Linked DNA regions of Homo sapiens: region 1 is linked to region 2. The links are contacts of gene promoters, found by promoter capture Hi-C in human tissues and cell types (Jung and others, 2019). All regions are on one chromosome and are shown on one strand. Each heading gives the region's core, a stretch centred on a gene start or on the middle of the fragment in contact. The rest is flanking DNA. Distances are from core to core; before and after follow the strand shown. Region 1 holds the start of ACTA1 (actin alpha 1, skeletal muscle). Region 2 has its middle 5.4 kb from the start of CCSAP.

What was found. Contacts are between HindIII fragments. The study calls those that stand out against the background at their distance.
Region 1: a contact is called between the fragment with the promoter of ACTA1 here and a fragment that was not itself captured in region 2, in 2 of the 25 tissues and cell types used here (dorsolateral prefrontal cortex and mesendoderm cells).

The regions. Positions count from the first base shown.
Region 1 is chr1:229,432,844-229,436,327 of GRCh38, forward strand. It overlaps ACTA1 (actin alpha 1, skeletal muscle), which reads right to left and starts at 1,251. Exons shown (of 7, transcript NM_001100.4): 1 at 1,161-1,251; 2 at 144-284; 3 at 1-37. The coding sequence starts at 272. RefSeq lists a silencer at 959-1,253. The HindIII fragment of the contact is 14,149 bases long and covers 1-3,484 here.
Region 2 is chr1:229,346,687-229,350,171 of GRCh38, forward strand. No RefSeq gene overlaps it. Among named protein-coding and RNA genes, the nearest start is that of CCSAP, 5.4 kb to the left of the region's middle. The HindIII fragment of the contact is 6,415 bases long and covers 1-3,485 here.

The DNA of each region.
Region 1 (3,484 bases), core at 1-2,500, 85 kb after region 2:
CGTAGGAATCTTTCTGACCCATACCGACCATGACGCCCTGCAGAGCCGAGACACCACGCACCCGTTAACGCCGCTCCGGGTGGCACCAGGCTGGCTTACGCGGGGACCCCGAGCCGGCTCCCTCTGCGGAGGGGCAGCCTGACCTGGTGTCGGGGGCGGCCCACGATGGACGGGAACACGGCCCTAGGGGCGTCATCCCCGGCGAAGCCGGCTTTCACCAGGCCGGAGCCATTGTCGCACACGAGGGCGGTGGTCTCGTCTTCGTCGCACATTGTGTCTAGTTTCTGCAAGGACAGGGAGACCGCGAAGAGGCGCGGTGCATCAGCGCAGAAGTCTCAGCGGCAGGGGGGGGTAAGCCTGGCTGGCCCCGACGTCCTCCCTCCCCAGGAACCTAGGGACATCTCCTGCCGGAGCCACTCAAATTCTGCCAGGGCGGCGACCAGGGGTTCTCTTCTCGACCTTTGCCCCGGCTAAGGGCTGCCCTGAACCAGGAAAAGGGGCACAGGGTCGCGAGACCCCACTGAGAAGTCCTCTGTCCACATAGCCAGGGGAACATGTTCCCCAAGACCTGTCTGCCCTCCCTGCCTGACACCTGTTCCAGGAGCTGGACGCTAGTGCCCATCCTCTCTGCGCCTCCCTGACCACATCTGTCACCTAGGGAGATAAGGCCTCAGCACTGCCTGCTTGCTGGGCCAGCGTGAGGGTGGAAGGAGATGCCCATGGGAAAGGCGTTGGCACCCCATCCAGGGAAGAGTGGCCTGTTAGGAACCCTGTGACATTTCAAACTCAGAAAGGGCCTTTTCGCCTGTTGGAAACCCAGAATGGGTGGTCCTGGCTGCTCGCTCATTCGCTCTAGCGCTAGTTTGGAAGGGAACTGCCTTGGCGACAACTAAAGCAAAACCGTTTATCTCCCTAGGCACATCCTACATGCCAGGTAAAGGAGCCCAAAGGGGCTAGAGAAAAATTTGGAGAAGTCTAATTTCCAGAGGCTGACTGTCTTGCCTCCTTTTTAAAGCGCGTGTGGCTCCGGAGACGAGGCACAGCGCTCAGGGCGCAGGCCTGGGGCTGACCAGGTGAACCGACTGGGTTCTGCCCCGGAGTCCTTCAGGTTCCCCTCGGTAGTGCCCTGTCCCCCTGTCCCCTCCCAACTCCTGCCCTACCTGGGCGGGTAGCTACAACTGCTACTCTCGGCTCGGGCCCTGGTCGCCGCGGAGGGGAAGCGAGGCTTCACTTGGCGCTGTCCGCTGCGGTGGCCGCTTGTCCCTCTGCTCAGGTTTTATATAGCCCGCGGGCATTCCCTCCGCGCCACCCCGCAGGAATGTCGCTGCCCTTCTCGAGCCATATTTGGGTGTTGGGCACTAGAGCCCCCTCCCTCGGCCGGTTCGCGGCCTGGGCCCCCGCCCGGGTCCCCTGCGTTGACCAAAGAAGGAGCGGGTTGGCCCGGTCCCAGGTAACGCGGGCCGGGCCGTATATGGAGTGTCTCCCTAGCGGGTTTGCCCCTCCTGACCCGACCCAGTTGCCCGCCGGAGGGGATGGGGTGGGGCGAGGGTCACCGCGTTCGCCGGTGGGTGCATGTGTGCGCCTGCGCTCCGGGAACCGCACCTGTCCCAAAGGCCTCCCCAACCATGTCCACTCTGAGCGCCCTGGGCGCTCGGGAAGGTGCCTGACTGCTGACTTCCAATATTTCAACTCCTCTTCGGGTTCTTTGCTCAGATCCCCAAACTCCCACTTGCGACTACCGGGAAGAGGGAGTCGTGTGGAGTGGTGGGCTTGGGAGGATTGGAGAAGCAGTCACTCCTGAGTCTCAGGAAGGGAAGGAAGGCGAACTCCCTCTCCTTTACGCCCCTGGAACTCCATTTCTCTCTTCCCACCCCCGAGCTCCCTGAATCCAAAAAGCTGAGCCACGTCGACCCCTTCCCCCACCGCACAGAGGGCCACCGGCGGCCGGAGGGCGCGCAGCTGTCGCAGGATAGACAACTGGCGGGGGGAGGCGAGGGCGGAGCGCCGGGGAGGAGGCGCGGGGGCTCCCGGGGATAGGCCTGTCAGGCGCAAAGCCTGAGCACACGGAGCTGTCCGCCTCAGGGACGCGCAGCGCCCTTGGGTCTCCTAAAGGGATTGAAGGGGTGAGGGTTCCCCTCCTGTAGGACGCACTGGCCCCAGGTTTTGGTGGGCTGAGGCCCTCCCCCAGCCTCTTTGGTGGCACTATGTGTGTCCCTCTCCTGGGGCTGAAAGACAAGGGTCACAACCCAGGACTGGCTAGACCTGGAGTGGAGGTGGAGATGGGTGAGGGGCTCTTCCTAGATGAGGCTTAGCTGGTCCTTCCTCCCAATAAATTGGAGGGGGTGGGGGGACAAGGACGCGGCACTCTAGGATGGGTGGCAGTTTTTCCTTCTGCAAAGGCTGAACAAACTCATCTTTATATTTAGAGGATGATGCCTGCCAAGGCCGGGCTGCCTCCCAGTCCACCTTGTAGTCATCATTTACCAGAGCCTGCTGCAGGTTCTATTTATATCACTGATATATGGGGCTATGCCTTTCAGATTTTCTAGAAGGATTTGGAGCTACTTATGGTAAAGTAGAGTGGGGGTCAGCAGAGGTTACCCAGTTGGTGCCTGTCCCTCTCTCTCTCTCTCTCTCTCTCTCTCTCTCTCTCTCTCTCTCTCTCTCTCCTTTTTCCCTAAGACAAGGACAGTTCTAACCTTGTGGAGGGCACAGGAGGAGCAGTCTTCTGTGATGAACTCAGGGACATGCTTTAAGGGGGTACATCAGTGATGTGGTGTGGGCCAGAACAGAATCACTCATTTTTCGGATGTGCTTAAGTGCTCCTAAAATAGTTGCAATTCACTTTTGGTAGTGGAACCCAGCAACTGGGACAGGTGTGGATTCTCTAAAAGGGGGATGGAAGCATATGCGACCCTCCTCTGTAGCCCACATCATGGCAGTTCATCCCAAAAATAAACAAGTATTAACAAAAATGTTCTAGTGAATAAAATGCTACCTTCCTAAAAATGATCAATTAAAAAATAAGGAGTTTGACTAGTATAGGGACTATGCGGTGAGGATAAAGTCTCCTATGGTTCCATATTTAGTTCTTCCAAGTATTTTGGAGAGTAAGTGAATAATTGACAGAACTGTATTTCCTTTTTAACATCCTGTGTCCTCCTGTGTCAGCGAGTAGTGGAGATACTAGAAAAAAACCACTTAGCAAATGAGCTGCATGTAACGTAAGGGGACTAGCTTACATTTGGGCCTTGAAGGTAGGAAATTTGCTGCCGTTCACTGGATACCTCAATATTTGTGCGCATTCCAAAGGAGAATGGGATTGTCACTATTTTTCAAAACTCTTGCTCAGTTCAACTCTTACCTTTCCTTACAGAAAGCTTTTCTAAGCTCAGTCTGTTACATTCAAACCCACACTAAAAGCTGACCATGATTAAAAACACTCACAAGCGAACAGAGACCTGCTAGTACAGCAAACTGTGGG
Region 2 (3,485 bases), core at 953-3,452:
CCTGGCCAGATCTTCCTTTCTATTGGCTCCCCAATCTCCATCAGAGGAAGATGCCCCTCCTCGCCCAGGGCTGCCTCCCATCCAGGGCTTCCTCTGCCAAAATTGAGGGCACAGATCCTCCCTCTCCTGCCTATGCCTGGATCTTGCAGCCTGGTTTCTGGAGTCCCCTTGGTTTCTCTTAAATTTCCACCCTTTCCATTTTTTCTGTGAGCCTCTTAGGCCAGGGGTTCTGGTACCATCTATGGCCTGTTAGGTTCTGAGCCGCATTGCAAGAGGTGAGCGGCATGTGAACAATTACCACCTGAGCTCAGCCTCCTGTCAGATCAGCAGCAGGATTAGATTCTCATAGGAGTGCGAACCCTTTTATGAACTGTGCATGCGAGGGATCTAAGTTGCGCACTCCTTATGAGAATCTGTCTAATGCCTGATGATCTAAGGTGGAACAGTTTCATCACTAAACCACGCTGCCTTGCTGCCCCACATCTGTAGAAAAATTGTCTTCCACGAAACTAGTCCTTGGTGCCAACAAGGTTGGGGACCGCTGCCTTAGGTCATTCCTAAAAGTTCCCTCTAGCTTAAGAAACCAGTCCCAAGCCAGTAACATTTGCCACTGTTCTGTCTTTTAATCTTTGCTCATCGGTCCTCATCTCATCTGCAGAACAAATTGACACCCTCGTCCATTGTGGCTGTCCTTCAGTACTGTATGAACAAGGGCTCCTCTGGAGGGAGGCTTACCTCCTCTGTTCTAGAAATACGATCTTATAGGTTATGCTTATGACTATAGTAGATTTTTTAACAGCTAGACCTTACATATGGTCAATTATGTCCCAGAGAGGAGTCCTTCCCACCCCATGAGTGCTGTCCAGTTTGGTCTTTCTCATCAAGTTCTTGTTATTTTAACACAAAGGCAAATGTATAAATGGACACGTATTGCTTCATCTGCTCACTGCTCTTCCCTGTCCCCCTGTGGTTCTCCTGGGGCTGTCAACCCCAGCCTCCCACTCTGTCCCCATCTATAGGGAAAGGGAAGTGACCTGGGCTTGGCCAATCAGATCATCTTATGCCCCTGGCAACAGCTGCGCATGTGATGGAAGAATCTTTGTCTATAATTGGAATACCAAGAAGTTCTCTTTTGCTGGTGGTCTTTGGCTCAGACAATATAAGCTTGAGGCTATTAAGTGGCACTTTCTCCAGCTATAGGGAGGAAGTCCTTTTCCAGTGCGAGAAGAAGAGGCCAGCCTTCAGCAGGAAAGCAGAGCTCAAAGACAAAGAGAAGGAAAGAGAGTCCCAGTGACATTGGTTGAACCCCTGGCTCTAGCTCTGCCTGAGCCCACAAATATCCTTTCTGTTTAAGCTAGTTTGAATTTTTTTTGTCACTTCCAAGCGGATAAGTCCTGACATAATAATATGCTATTAGCTCATGTGGGAGCTGGCTGTTTAAAAGATCTTGGCATCCCTCTTGCTCCCTTTCTTGCCATGTGACATACCTGTTGCCTTTTCCCCTTCTGCTATGGCTGTGAGCTTCCTGGGCTTCCCCACCCAGAAGCAGATGCCAGCACTGTGCTTCTTGTACAGCCTGCAGAACTATGAGCCAAAAAAACCTCCTTTTTTTTTTTTGTAAATAAGTTACCCAATTTCTGGAATTCCTTTATATCAACACAAAATGGACTAGTTTACAGAAGATAAGACATATTAAATATCTTAATTGGAATCAATATCTAAATGTGCTTAGATTCATTTTGAATTGAGGAGGAGTATAAAGAAACCGTAAGAACGGATACAAATTAAAATAAAAGAATTTTTGTTTCCATTATTTCTGTGGTAGCTGCTATTATCTTAAGTCCTCAAGCGAAGGTAAGGTAAAGAATGCTAACATAGCCCTGCCACATCAACAGTTGCCCCCTGCGCCCTTCTGCGAAGTATCAGCCAGCAGTGACGGTCACAGTTGTGCAGTTTGAGGGATGTAATCAGCACCCTTTCCCAATGCAGCACGTGAAATACTCAGCTTTGAAATGTTGTTATTGGACTGAAGAAGTGATTTCAGAAAACTTTTCACAGTGGGCATCTTTGTGTGGAATGAAGACAGGTGACAATGTCAGGAACCCTACTGTCCACGGCCTTGACCCAGCTGCTACGTTCCAGTGAGGATTCAATTCCATGCACATCAGTGAAAGCTTGCTGTATCCCTGGCTATGCTGAGGGCAGGAAATGTAAAAGACGCAGGTCTCAAACTTTAGGTTTATTTATTTATGTATTTATTTATTTATTTTTGAGACGGAGTCTTGCTCCGTCACCCAGGCCAGAGGGCAGTGGCATGATCTCGACTCACTGCAACCTCCGTCTCCCTGGGTCAAGCTATTCTCCTGCCTCAGCCTCCCAAGTAGCTGGGATTACAGGCTCACGCTGACATGCTGGGCTAATTTTTGTATTTTTAATAGAGACGAGGTTTCGCCATGTTGGCCAGGCTGGTCTTGAACTCCTGACCTCAGGCGATCCGCCTTCCTCAGCCTCTCTAAGTGCTGGGATTACAGACATGAGCCACCGTGCTGGGGCCCTTTTAGACTCATTTAAAGCTCAGTGGTTCCCAACTTTTGGGGGTCATATACTCTTTTGAGAATATGATCAAACTTATGGACTTTCTCCCCAGAAAAAATAAATGTACACACAAAACATTTGCCTGCCTGTAACCCTCCCCCATGCTGGCTTATGGATCCCAGGAAAAGAACCTAGGTGCTCTGTTCCACAGACAAACAACATGTAATTAGATGACTAATAGTACTAGCATCCAATGCCTTCTCAATGTCAGGCATTTTACTCATATCAGCTCAATTAATTCTCATAGCAACTCTGTGAGAATTAGAAATAGAATCTATTATGTGCCCATTTTACAGATGATGAAATTGAGGACTAGACCTAATAAAGAATAAAGAACTCGATTAAGATTACACAGCTAGCAGTGGTGGAATTGGAGCTCAGAGATGGCTGACTCTGGAGTTAATAGTCATGTGAGGTTGGCCAAGGGATAATTGGCCAGGTGCTCCGAGGCAAAAAATAGAGAAGGTGGAGACTGTGCAGTCTGCCTCAAGGCAGAGCCAGACTGCCTGAGTTTGAATCTTGGTTTTGCCACTAACTACGTGACTTTGGTCAGGTAACTTCTCTATGCTTCAGTGTCCCTAGGCATGAAACAGAGATAATAACAGTTCCTGTGAAGACCAGATAAAATTGCAGCTTATGAAGTAGTGAGAACTGTGTCTGCATTGAATAAGCAATCAATAAATGGTAGCTCTTTTTATTGTTAAGCAGGATGACCCCAGTGCTTTGAGGATGGCTCCACATACGAAGGAAGAACGACAAAGAACAGATGTATCCAGAAACACAAGCAGAGAACTGGCTTAGGGTCTTCAAACTGCAGGTGAACAGTTGTCACTAGTACTATGTAATTTAGGATAGTGAGGAATGAAGAAAACTTGGGTTCCACAGTAGAA